Regions from separate parts of the Homo sapiens genome. Here regions 2 and 3 are each linked to region 1. The links are contacts of gene promoters, found by promoter capture Hi-C in human tissues and cell types (Jung and others, 2019). All regions are on one chromosome and are shown on one strand. The core of a region is centred on a gene start or on the middle of the fragment in contact, and the rest is flanking DNA. Distances in the headings are between cores, read along the strand shown.

Evidence for each region. The method cuts DNA at HindIII sites, captures the fragments that hold promoters and counts their contacts. A contact is called where the count stands out against the background at its distance.
Region 2: a contact is called between a fragment that was not itself captured here and the fragment with the promoter of CDH26 in region 1, in 1 of the 25 tissues and cell types used here (dorsolateral prefrontal cortex).
Region 3: a fragment that was not itself captured here is called in contact with the fragment with the promoter of CDH26 in region 1 in 1 of the 25 tissues and cell types used here (lymphoblastoid cells).

Annotation. Positions count from the first base shown.
Region 1 is chr20:59,956,560-59,960,983 of GRCh38, reverse strand. It overlaps CDH26 (cadherin 26), which reads right to left and starts at 2,561. Exons shown (of 18, transcript NM_177980.4): 1 at 2,189-2,561. The coding sequence starts at 2,257. The HindIII fragment of the contact is 5,804 bases long and covers 1-4,424 here.
Region 2 is chr20:61,681,137-61,685,560 of GRCh38, reverse strand. The region is part of intron 2 of CDH4 (cadherin 4); the gene reads right to left. Among named protein-coding and RNA genes, the nearest start is that of CDH4-AS2, 36 kb to the left of the region's middle. The HindIII fragment of the contact is 3,769 bases long and covers 416-4,184 here.
Region 3 is chr20:61,170,691-61,175,114 of GRCh38, reverse strand. No RefSeq gene overlaps it. Among named protein-coding and RNA genes, the nearest start is that of CDH4, 79 kb to the left of the region's middle. The HindIII fragment of the contact is 3,737 bases long and covers 452-4,188 here.

The DNA of each region.
Region 1 (4,424 bases), core at 1,312-3,811:
CTTTCAGACAGGGTTTTCCCCCTATTATGTTTATTGGTGTATTCCCAGTGCCTGGCCCAAAGCAGGTATCCAGTAAATAGTTTTAGCATGAGCTCTGAATGAATATTGCCAACCATTTTCACTGTGATTAGAAAAACGGCTGGGTCGTTACTGAACTGTGAACCTAATAGTAGACAGAGGCTCTCTAAGAGAAGATGACGTTTGTCTGGGCAAGGACATATCCATGGGAATATGTGTGCCATGGTAAACGATGTGCAGAGTCAGGGAGGTAAAGGGAGATAAAGGTTTTCAAAGGAAAAAATGAGAAGGATTATATCATTGTTTTGAAATAATTATCTTTGGCTACAAAGATCAATAAGAAGGGTGACACTGGTCTGAGTTTGCACAAAAAGTTGCTGGGAAGATTTCTTCGAAAAAGTATTTTTTGTGTAAGGTTTTAACGGCCTTTGTGCAAAGTTGTTATTTTTGCAGAGCTTTTGTGATAGTTTTAGTTATCAAGCCTACAAATGTGAGAACCCCCTTTTCATAACCTTCTTTGTGTCTATATATCAGGCTTTGTGCCTGTGTGTGTGTGTGTGTGTGTGTGTGTTTTAACATAAGGAACTCCATTCTGATTCTGACAACTTTCGCAGTACCAAGGGCTTTTACGCATTTCCTCATTCACTGGTACAACCACTGGCTCAGATAAATTCAGTTACTAGCTCCATTTTCAGGTGAAGAAAAATAGGCTTAACAAGGTTATGTTAAAACCAGTGCACTGACACCCAGTGCACTCCCAGGTCAGCTCAACCTGAACCTTTGGGGGCAAAACCCAGGCACTGAGATCCCTTGAAGCTCCCTAGGTAAGTTCAACTTGATCCAAGGTAAGGAACAAAGTTAAGCTGGCCTAGGTCCCCAGCGGGCTGTGAAGGAGCCTAGGTCAGGACGCCAAGCAGCCCAGTCCAGAGCTCACAGTTACCAGCCACTGGGCTGCTTCCCACCCTCAGCTGGTATTCAAAGGAAGAAATGATTCCCTCTCCCTACCTACAGAAAGCCAACGAAGCAGATCATAACCAACAAGCGCATGCAACATTACCTCTGTCCACTCTAAGTACAAACAGAGCAAGCCCATGTGTTTCGAATCCTGACTCCACTAGTTTGTATTCCCATTTAAACAGTGGCAGTTGGGGGCAATGGATTTAGCCATTCCATCCCCATGGGTTTGCTCAAATTGCCTTGGATCCAGACAACTGAGATTTCCTCAATCTTATGTAAAGTGTGAACAGAAGTATCATTATAAAACTTGGCAGGGCGCAGTGTCTCAAGCCTGTCATCCTAACACTTTGGGAGGCTGAGGCAGGCAGATCACTTGAGGTCAGGAGTTTGAGACCAGCCTGGCCAACATGGTGAAACCCTGTCTCTAATAAAAATACAAAAACTAGCCGGGCATGGTGGCGTGCACCTGTAGTCCCAGTACTCGGGAGGCTGAGCCAGGAGGTTGCTTGAACCCAGTAGGAGGAGGTTGCGGTGCACTGAGATGTCACCACGCACTGTAGCCTGGATGACGAGACCCTGTCTCAAAAAAAAAAAAAAATTGTGTGTGTTGGCTGGGTGAGGTGGCTCATGCCTGTAAACCCAACACTTCGGAAGGGCAAGGCGAATAAATCACTTGAGCTTAGGAGTTCGAGACCAGCCTGGGCAACATGGTGAAAATCCATCTCTATAAAAAATACAGAAATTAGCCAGCGTGGTGGTAAGTTACTGTAGTCCCAGCTACTCTTGAGGCTGAGGTGGAAGGATCACCTGAGCCTGGGAGGTTAAAGCTGCAGTGAGCCTTGATCATGCCACTGCACTCCAGCCTGGATGATGAAGCCAGACCCTGTCTCAACAAAAGGAGAAAGAAACAAAGAAAGAAAACACGTGTGTGTTGATGTAATCTCACTAAAAATAGTGTGAACTATATAAATTAGTTTTAAACAGGTCCCTTAGCCTGCTCCCACTGTTGCCCCAAACAGACTGGGACCCTTAACTTCCCTTTATATAAATCCAGAGCCCCTGCTACCTAAGCCATTCTCAAGACAGCCAGCCCTGGGTCCCAGCAGGTCACACTCAGTCCCTCTCCCCTCCCTTAGCCTAGAAGGGGCAGGGCCAGCTTGTGCTTTGCTTTCAGTTCCCTGCACCTGAGCACTAGGCTGCAGGCTCAGCTTACCTGCAGCAGCCACAGCAGCAGCACTAGAAGCAGCAGCAGCGAGGGGTGCCTCCCGGATCTCATGGCCATATGGGAATACCCAAGACAGACCCAGAACGTGCAGCTGATGACCAGTCCTCCAAGCTGGTGGTCTCACCGGAGCCACACACCTCCTTCTCAGCCAGCAGCTTCTTCTCTAAAGGTTTTCAGGTCACTTTGGCCCAGATGCTTTCATCCCATCTTGCTCCTCCCTTTTCAGCTTTTCTTGCATTTATCAGAGTGGGGTGGGCTGACTTGTAAGCTTGAACATACGTTTGCCACAAGTAGAGTTCCTAGGAAGGGTGGGGTAGAAACTAAAGCCACCATGGTCCTGCACGTACACAAAAGACTGGCTGGGGTCTGACCTCAGGAACAACAGCTCAGCCAGCGGAAGTAAAACCAGCACCTATCGGAAAGCAGAATTATTTGTTTCTTTGTTTCCTTGTTTGTTCTGGTTTCCAAATAGAAGGTCCAATCATCTCTTTCTATAGCAGGATATGTTAGTGACTATTTTCTATAATCTTATCCTCTTGAACCAAACAAAAAAAACTAGAAAATGACAAGAATGATAACTTTATTAAGGGGGAAGGGATGGGGAAGAATGAAAGAAAAGAAAAATCAACTTTTACTTTCCAAAGCACTAAAAATCGTTATTCCAACAATATCCCAGGGCTCTGGGGTTTTCAAATTATTTCTACTAAAACCTTTTTTAAGCTTAGATTAATCTGCCTTTTTGAGTTTGGAATTAAAGTGGGAGGGAGGAGAGATGGGAAAGAGCCTCCCTATGGACAGGGATCTCTGTGGCAACCCGGGAGTCTTTGCATGAGAATTCTGAAAGAGACAATTTGAGATTATATTATACCAATACTTAAGGTTGCAGTAAGCAAGTTTTAAAACACAATCTGTGATACATTAACCCTGATTACCTTAACATGACCTTTTTATCACATTACCTTGTTTAAAGTAGTAAACAGATAAAATAAAAGGTAAACTTTCTTTGCTTGTTCTAGATATTGGCTTAGGCAAGGATTTCATGACCAAGAACCAAAAAGCAAATGCAATAAAATCAAAGATAAATAGCTGGGACCTAATTAAACTAAAGAGCTTTTGCACTGCAAAAGGAACAGTCAGCAGAGTAAACAGACAACCCACAGAGTGGGAGAAAATCTTCACAATCTATACATCTGACAAAGGATTAATATCCAGAATCCACAATGAACTCCAACAAATCAGTAAGAAAAAAACAATCCCATCAAAAAGTGGGATAAGGACATGAATAGACAATTCTCAAAAGAAGATATACAAATGGTCAACAAGCATATGAAAAAATGCTCAACATCACCAATGATCAGCAAAACGCAAATCAAAACCGCAGTGCGATACCACCTTACTCCTGCAAGAATGACCATAATCAAAAAATCAAAAAACAGTAGACGTTGGTGTGGATGTGACAATCAGGGAACACTTCTACACTGCTGGGGGGAATATAACATAGTACAGCTGCTATGGAAAACAGTGTGGAGATTCCTTAAAGAACAAAAGTAGAACTACCATTTGATCCAGCAATCCCACTACTGGGTATCTTCCCAGAGGAAAAGAAGTCATTATTCGAAAAAGATACTTGCACATGCACGTTTATAGCAGCAAAATTCACAATTGCAAAATCGTGGAACCAACCCAAATGCCCATCAATCAACTAGTGGATAAAGAAAATGTGTATATGCGTATCTATATGTATATATACACATATATGCGTGTATATATGTGTATGTACATATATACACATATATGTGTGTATATATGTGTATGTACATATATACACGCATATATGTATATATACACATATATGTGTATATATGTGTATGTACATATATACACATATATACATACATATATACACACATATATGTATATATATACATACACATATATACACACATATATGTATATATATACATACACATATATATACACATATATATGTATATATATGTGTATATACAGATATATATGATGGAATACTACTCAGCCATAAAAAGGAATGAATTAACAGCATTTGCAGTGACCTGGATGAGATTGGAGACTATTATTCTAAATGAAGTAACTCAGGAATGGAAAATCAAACATTGTATATTCTCACTGATTTGTGGGAGCTAAGCTATGAGGACACAAAGGCATAAGAATCATACAATGGACTTTGGGGAATTGGGGGGAAGAG
Region 2 (4,424 bases), core at 1,051-3,550, 1.7 Mb before region 1:
AAACAGCGGGGTGGTGGGGCCGAGGAGCGGCCTTTGCAATCCAGAGGGGAGAGACGGGACTGATGAGAGCAGGCACTCTCCGCAGGGGAGATGAAGGGGCCCAAGCTTTTATTATGAGGCAGGTACAGCAAGAATGGCTTGGTACACAGAGCACTTGCTCAACCCCTGTCATGAGCCTGTGGGGAGGGGCAGTCACCCCGCTTCACACAAAGGGTGGTGGAGAGACCAAGTTGCTTTGAGACATGAATTGAGTGGAGGCGGCTTTGAAGCCAGTAGCAGCGCATGGAGAGTGAGGCAACACAATATATTCCCAGGAACAGACCCAAACCGCATGGGAGACCCTTAAAAACACTGTGCTAAGTGAAAGAAGTCCACCCCAAAGACAATCCCACCTGTAGCAAATACCCAGACTAGACACATCTAGAGACGGAAAGACAGAAGGTGTATTTGTGGCTGTTGGGATGGGGCAGGGAATGGGAGTGGCTGTCTTATGGGTACGGGGTTTCCCTGCTGGGTGATGAGTAAGTTGCACAATTAGATGACAGCAACAGTTGCTCTCTGTAACATATACTCAACTCTACACTATACATGGAACTCTGAATTGACTAAGGACCATTGAATTGTACACTTTAAACAGGGGAATTTCACGGTAAGTTTTTATATCTTAATAACGTGGTTAGAAATAGAGTGAGCAAATATTTACAGATGAATTGTGTGTTTGAAGCTTCAGGAGCAGTTTAGAAACCTCACCCACATCGAGGGGTGGTCACGGCAGGCGGCTGTGGGCTGCAGATTGAGGGAGGCTGCTGTGCTGGGTGGGTGTGGCAGGTCCCAGGTGCTGGCGAGGATTGGGAGCTGTTTGCACAAAAACGCTAAGATGGTTTGTAAGACTTTGAGATAAAATGAAACTACCCAAGAAAGCCCTAAAATTTTAAAGAGCAGGTTAGAGACTGAACCCCCAGGAGCCTTTCAGCCCCCAGGACGGAGCCCAGGATTCCCAGCTGCAGAACAACACAGGGGGCTGGACCTTGTGTGTGATATGGAACAGGCGGCCAGGAGATGGTTGCCTCCGAATTCTGCCCAGGCTCAAGGCTATTTTGTATAAAAGGTCCTGAGATGTCCCTGCCCCTGCATTTTGGCTTGGTTAACATCAGACCTACTTAACCAGCATAAGCAAGACGGAGGTTGAGGCCACGTGCTCCGCGCTTGCTGCTTCCTTAGCTGGGCGGCCCCCCTGCTCTTCCCACAGGGCTCAGTCGCATGGTCGCCCCTTTGCCACCCTCTGAGCACCTCCCAGGCCACTTCCCAGGCCGGCCAGTCCCCCTCATTCACAGCACTCCGACGGCCTCCTTCACCAGCAGCAACGGCTGCATTTATTCCTTTGGGGGTTTCTAGAATGTTTGGCATCCAGAGGGCAGAGGCTTTGTCCGATGCCACTGCAATCCCTGCTACACAGTAGGTATCAGCCAACCCTGTTAAATGAATCCACACACAGGGAAGAAGCACCAAACAGACCCAGCTCTGGCTGTAGTCCCTGCCACGCCCACCTCCCCAGACACGAGGAGCTCCTGGGAAGGGGATGATGTGGTTGTGATGGGGCTACAGTCTCACCCACCGCCAGGAAGAGCCCAGCCTCCCAACTCCCACCCATCCCTCTGGCTGCTCTCTACTGTGAAGTGCCAGCTAGGCGGTGCACCTCACCCCACGGCAGGCAGGCACAGGCTTGTACAAGAACAGACAATGAAAACAGGGTTTTAATCAGGATCGTTTACTTAGCACAGAGCCTGGCTTGAAGGAAGAGGACAGTGAGTGGTAACTGTATGACAGGAAGAGTCTTCTACAGAAAGATCATGCCCCTCCAAGCAAACACATTTTCATATTTGACCTGAACATTAAATCTCATTCTATCAACAAAGTATGCATCTCACTCTGTGGGTGACTGACAAGCTACCAACAAGGTTCTGAACACCTGGCCCATCTGCGGGATCTGAGGAAGCAGATGCGTGCAGTTTGGGGTGCTCTTCTAGCACGGCACCCCGTTCTGGTACCATCTGCCTGGGCCGCACTCCCGGGGCACCTGCCCACGGGCCTCCACGACTCGCGGTTCGGGGGACACCAGATACACCGTGACAGCTCCAAGGAAAGCAACCCGTGCCGTTCACTGCAGGGTACAGTAGATTTTGCTGGAGACTTTCTTTGTGAAGCAGAAACTGCCTCTGAAGTGCATGATTTCCTCTTGTGATCGTTTCTTTCTCTGCCATCTTAATGCCTATTACTCATCCTTCCAAAGATCAGAATTTTATAAGAAACATATGGATCTCAAGACTTATCGTCTGCCCTATACTGCACAGACGTGGAGAGTACAGCTGCGTGCACTTCTCCGTACTCTGCACATTCACACACAGCCTATAAACTCCCATAAACACATTCCAGGGAGAAAATGTTGAATCAAAGCCATAAGCAGCCAGTCCCATTGCCAGGCCCCGGCATGGTGACTTTATATTTATTTTAATAGACTCTGGGCTGTCATTTCCATCTTTATAAAAAGATACAGGATTTTTTGAGAACTAGCTGAAAGAGAACCATTCACAATTGGTTCTTATACATTTTCTCACTGAATGCATTTTCACAAATAAAAGGAAATACTAGATGGGTGAGCAGCTGATCTCTACCTTCAGGGGATTTGCTTACGGGTAGATTGCCCCACAATAAGAACGTTTCCATAACAAATGCCATAAACCTACAAATGTGAGAGTAATACAACATTCCACAGATTAGAATCACCTTGGACTTCCCAAGCTTCCTCTTCACTAAGCCAGAAACATCAGACATTCCTGGCGTGGGGAGGTAAAATCATTCCTGGCATGGGGAGGTAAAATCCATGCTTCCTCCAGTAATTGCTTTATCATTAATGAGTTTTAATGCCCTGTTCTCTCCTCTCCTCCCTTCCACTTTTCCACCCATCTCTCCCTCTGTCCCTTCATCTCTCCCTTCCTCTGTCCATCCATCCCTCCACCTATCCATGTATTCATCCATCCATCCACCTGTGTGTCCATCTCTCCGTCCATCCATCCATCCATCTGTCCATCCATCCATCCCTCCCTCCCTCCCCTTCTCCCACCCCTCCATCCATCCATCCTTCCATCTGTCCCTCTGTCCATCCATCTATCCATCCATCATCCATCCACCATCCATCCATCCATCCATTCATCTATCTCTCCCTTCCTCCCTCCCTCCCTCTCTCCTTCCATCTGTCCCTTTGTCCATTCATCCACCTGTCCATCCATCCATCTGTTCCTCTATCCATCCGTCCACTTGTCCAACCATCCATCCATCCATTTCTCTATCCATCTGTCCACTTGTCCATCCATCCCTCCATCCATCATCTACCCATCCACCTGTCCATCCATCTACCCTCTATCCACCCATTCCTTGGTCCACCTTCCCACACCCCATGAAGGTAGTGTCATAAAGGCAGGGACTGGCCCAGAAGCCAGGACCCAGAATGGAGGCAGACGCTTAGCAGGATACAGCAACTGCTAGCACTGAAGCCATAGGTTCTCCACTAGCAGCTGAAACCCACTGGGCTTCCTTCTGCAATGACAACCCAGATTGCCCTGGGGTCACAGGCAGCTCCTGCAAGTTCACAGCCCTGGCCTTGGCATCACGTCATTTTCTGCTGAACCTGCTTGCTCCCGTATACACCACACACCCTCAAAGACAAATGTGGGGATGCTCTGTCTGTCCCTCCATCACCAGGAAGCCAAAGGAATGTCAGCTGCACGGGCCTGAGAACACAGCAACACCGACGCAGGGCTTTCTAGGGTGGCAGCTCCACATGCACTGAGCCCGGACTTTCCCGATGCCCAGAAAGCTCTTTAGGGGCTCTGCAGCACCCTCAGCTCTGTGCCTGTGGAAGGGATTCCGGGCTTCCTGCAGGGGGATCCTGAGACTCCTCCCAGCTGCTAGATGATGCCCCCTTTTTCTCCTACCCCTTGGAACAAGAGTTCGGGAGCTAACAGATTCCTTAAAATGCACACAGTTATCAAGTTCCAAGGATTGTCTAATTCTCCCACCCCTCAGAACAAGAGCTCAGAAGCCAACAGATCCCTTGAAATACGCACACAGTTATAAAGTTCCAAGGATTGTCTAATCCATTTTTGTCACCTTTTGGGTGATTTCAGCCTCATTTTTATGCGTGGCAGAAAATCTTAACAATTTAGAAAGAGTATTTTGTATGATTTGGACAAAAGAGAAAATTCATACCAAGCCTTGCAAAAAGCTACTTAGTCCTAAAGCACTGTATACAATTTGTAGGTAATTCACAGCAAATTATGCCTCAAATTTGACTGTGTGTGGCTGAAAGAGAAAAAAAGCCATTAGGACGTGAGGGCGGGTGTTTTACCCTTGCAGAGACATTTTCT
Region 3 (4,424 bases), core at 1,071-3,570, 1.2 Mb before region 1:
GGATATGGAGGAAACCCTGCAGGTTCACACTGTAGAGGGGCAAGGCCTACTCCCCCAACACCTCCCATCCGTTTCTCTTTACTTTGCAAATTCAACATATTTTTAGTTTTGTTGTCTTGGGTCTGCAGCTGCAAGAGCCCCTCTTCTGGCTCCTAGGACCTACATGGAAGCCTGGCCTCAGCCCATGGGAGTGTTCCTTCTCCTTCAAGGCCCCTTGGGGACACAGGGCTTGTGCAATGCCACAACATGTGCCTTGCCCAACTCGGGGAGAGAACACATCTGCCTGAGACCGGGCTCTATGGCAGAGGGTCTGTACCCTCTCCTCCTGAAAATCATCCAGGTCTGCTTCAGCGCAGCACAGTGTCTGTCTATATGATGTTCACAGTTGGGAACCTGGCCCAGCAGCAGCCTCTCTGCTCCCTTTTAAAGGAGAAGCTGCAAAACCTGTCCTGCCCTCACCGCACTGTGGGGACAGCAGGAGCATCGGCACCCTGTGGTCCTGCCTCTCCCAGGCTGACTGGTCCAGGGCCAAGCATCTGACTGAGGAGCATCCCCTTCCTGGCTAAGTCAATGACATAAAACCCCTATGGTCTGGATTAAATCCAAGCATGGTCAACTAGGCTCATTTGTACCAGACACATGGGAGGGATTTGCCAGTGTTTGGTGCAACAGGAAGAAGTAGGGAGCAGCCAGTTGCTGGGCAGTTTCTGGAGGAACCTGTGAGACACAGCCTCCTAGTCCTGGTACAGAGGACTCTGAGCCACCCAGATTCAGGTTTGCCCCCATGGGTCCCTGGAAGAACCTGCCCCACAGCCTGCACACCTCAGATTCCTTGGGATTCCTTGTATGGCTTCCTGTACAACCAGAGTGAAAACCCTGCCCCCAAGTGAGTCTGAGTGGAGCCTTTGTTGCTTGTAACCAAAGAGCTAACCTAAAACATGACATTCCTAAGTGCTTAATAGCAATACAGACACTTTCTTGAGTTCTTGCAGGGTGTCCAGAGCTTAGCTAAAATCATTACAAGAGTTGAATCACTTGATACTCACAACCCTATACACATGTTTATTCACATGTCATGCATTTTTTGGGTACCGAGTGCAGGCCAGACAGTTCTAGGCACTGAAGAGACCGTCATAAGCTAGGAGAAAGTAATCCCAGCCCCCAGGGAGTGTGCAGGTAGTAGGCACAATATAAACACACAAATGAACAAGATGCTCTTAGAGAGTTGGGTTTTGAGGCAGTAACATGTGATAAAGGAAGGAGAGTCCAGGAGGGACGGAGGATCTTGAACATCGTTTCAGCTGAGACTTAATGCTGACGAGTATTTGGCAAGTTAAAGATCTGAGGTGATCTTGGAGATGGATTGTGGATATGGTTGTTGGGTGTGGAGACAGTTGATGGATGGTGGTGATGGCTGATGGATAGTAGAGATGGTTAATGAATGGTGGAAATGATTGATGGATGGTGGCGATGGTCGATAAATGGTGGTGATGGTTGATGGATGGTGATGGTAGATGGATGGTGGAGATGATTGATGGATGATGGAGACAGTTGATGAATGGTGGAGGCAGTTGGTAGATGATAGTGATGGTTGATGGATGATGGTGATGGTTCTTGGATGGTAGAAATGGTTGGTGGATGGTGGAGATGATTGATGGATGGTGGAGATGGTTGATGGATGATAGAGATGACAGATAGATGGTGGAGATGGTTGAATGGATGATGGGAATGGTTGATGGATGGTGGTGATGGTTGATGGATGGTGATGGTTGATGGATGGTGGAGATGGTTGATGGATGGTAGAGATGGTTGATGGATGGTGGAGATGGTTGATGGATGGTGGAGATGGCTGATGGATGATAGAGATGGTTGGTAGATGGTGGAGATGGTTGATGGATAGTGGAGATGGTTGATGGATTGTGGAGATGGTTGATGGATGGTGTTGATGGTTGATGGATGGTCAAGATGGTTGTACACAGTGTGAATGCACTTAATGCCACAGATGTGTACATTTAACAATGGTCAAAATAGTGAATTTTATGTTATATGTATTTAACCACTATACACACTCCCACCACCCACCCCATATATATATGTGAACATCTTTTGTGGGGAAAAAAACATTCATTGTTATCTTGGAATATTTAAAACAAAGCCAGAACGAACTGTGAAGTTGGGGAGAGAACAAGAGGCCCTCACTGCAGTCACTTTCCTGAATGGTGTGTCCACATCCAAATCCCTGGACCTTGTGAACATGACCATATTTAGAAGAAGAGTCTTTGCAGGTGTGATTAAGTTAAGGATCTTCAGATGCAGAGACCCTCCTGGATTATCCTGGTGGGGCCTAAATCCTGTGACAAGGGTCTTACTAAGAGGGAGGCAGAGAGGTAAGCCAGACAGAAGAGGAGGAAGCAGAGATGGGTGTCATGGCTGGAAGCCTCCAGCAATGGGATAGGAAGAAGAGGAAGGAATGGAGCCTCCCCCAGAGCCTGTGGGGGATTGTGGTCCTGCCAACATCTTGATTCACGTTTCTGGCTTCTAGATTGTGAGCCATTACACATCTGTTGTTTGAATTAAAAAAAATAAAAAAAATTAAAAAGAGATCTGGGACAGAGCCTAGGCAGAGGGATAGTGAGTGCCCAACCTCCCAGGAAAGGAGAGAGCCCAGGGATGGGAGAGACCCTGCACTGTAGGGCAGGAAGGTGGGCAGTGGCAGCAAGCAGGTCAGACATACAGGGCCTGTGTAGGTATTCCTTCCCCACGTACCATCAGGCTCGAGGAGGCTGGGAGCTGGGAGCCTAGGGACATTGGGAGAGGGAGCCAGGTGCAAGCATCTGGGGTGTCCAAAACACATCAATGTGATGGTACAGCATGTTCAGAACCTCTAGGACTGGATGCCCACATCAGGCGACGCTCACGCAGGTGATGTATCCCTGGGTGCTTCTAAACCCCTCCACTCAGGAAAGAAAACCAGAATGCAAGAATAGTGCCTTTGCATCTATTGCAATATGCTTAAAATATATTATTTACCAGCTGCAGTGCTTAATTTGCCACAGATTATTTGCAACCACATACGACTGTCTGCAGCCATAGCAGTGCACATAACCCTCTGGTTGGGAAGCCTGCCTAAGTGCCCAGCAGCAAAGGTGCTGGCAAAAGAGTGGAACATGGGATGGTTAGGGTCCCTGGCAGCAGGAGAGGTGGTCCTCAGAGGAGCCGTGCTGAGACTCACTTTGTCTTTAGTTCCCCTCTGATACTTTCCAGAGAGCCCCATGGGTGTCTGGGGTGTCCACTTGAACCCACAGGGACTCAACTGAATGCACCGATGGAACTTATCCCTGGCAGGTGTAAGCAGAAATGAGGATCTACTGGTGAACGGAGCTGAAAACATGCGGTGCTCAACAGTGCCCAGATTGCCTTCTCACTCTCCCTCTCCACGACCTCCAGGCACAGGCAGAGACCTCCAAGGTGGCAGCTCATTGGAAAGCGACCTTCTCTGTCCCATCTTTCTAGAAAAAGCCCCATGGCTTGGATCCCATCACAGCTGCCAGGGGAATGAGCCCTTTATTAGACCACGTCTGCAGTCAAGCTGGAAGATAAGAAGTGTGTCAGTGTGCCAGTGCCTGAGTGTGCATGAGTGTGAGCAGTTGTGATGGTGCATGATCATGTGTGGGTGTGAACATGTGTGGGTGCCCGAGGAGGGTCCTGAAGTCAGGGTGTGGGTTTCTTTTATGAGGCTCTGCAGTAAAGGGAAGTAAGGGGAACAATGTAGCGGTGGGGTTTTCCTGGCCCATGCATGGTAGTCCACCATGCCCTTCATACAACATATGTCTCATTAGCATCTGAAATCTCCACCTCCGGACATGAGTTTTAGCATTAACATAAGGAAAAGGTAACTATGAGTTGGAAGTTAAGCCTAGCTGTGCATGCAGGGCCTTGGGAAAGTTACCGATCCCCTAAAGCAGAAACATGTGGTTAAAAGCTTCTTGGGCCTTTGACGCTGATTGGCTGGAGTTACAGCTAGAGGAAGGGGCCTTTGTTCTTTTTTTTTTTTCTCCAGACCATGTGGAAACAGGAAACCAGCCAGCTTGCCTGTCTCAGGCCCACCTGTGTCACCCTTGCCTGTCTTATGAGCAGGGCCTGGATGGGCAGAGGCAGCTGGGTCACTTCTTCGTTTTAATGACAGAGGAACCTGTCCACAAAGTCGCCGTCATTCCTGCCCTCTCAGTAGACAGAGGTCTTGTGCTTGCACCAAGAGCATTCCATGCCGAAGCAAGGACTCCACTTAGCCTCAGGTGTTCCCTGAAGACAAGTGACTTGTGAGCCAAGCCACTCCTCTTTAATGCATCTGAGGAAGGGCCAGAGTTTTCAAAGAGCTCATCCTTGGCCTAAGCTTTTGGCCAACTGGGAAAATGCGCATCCCC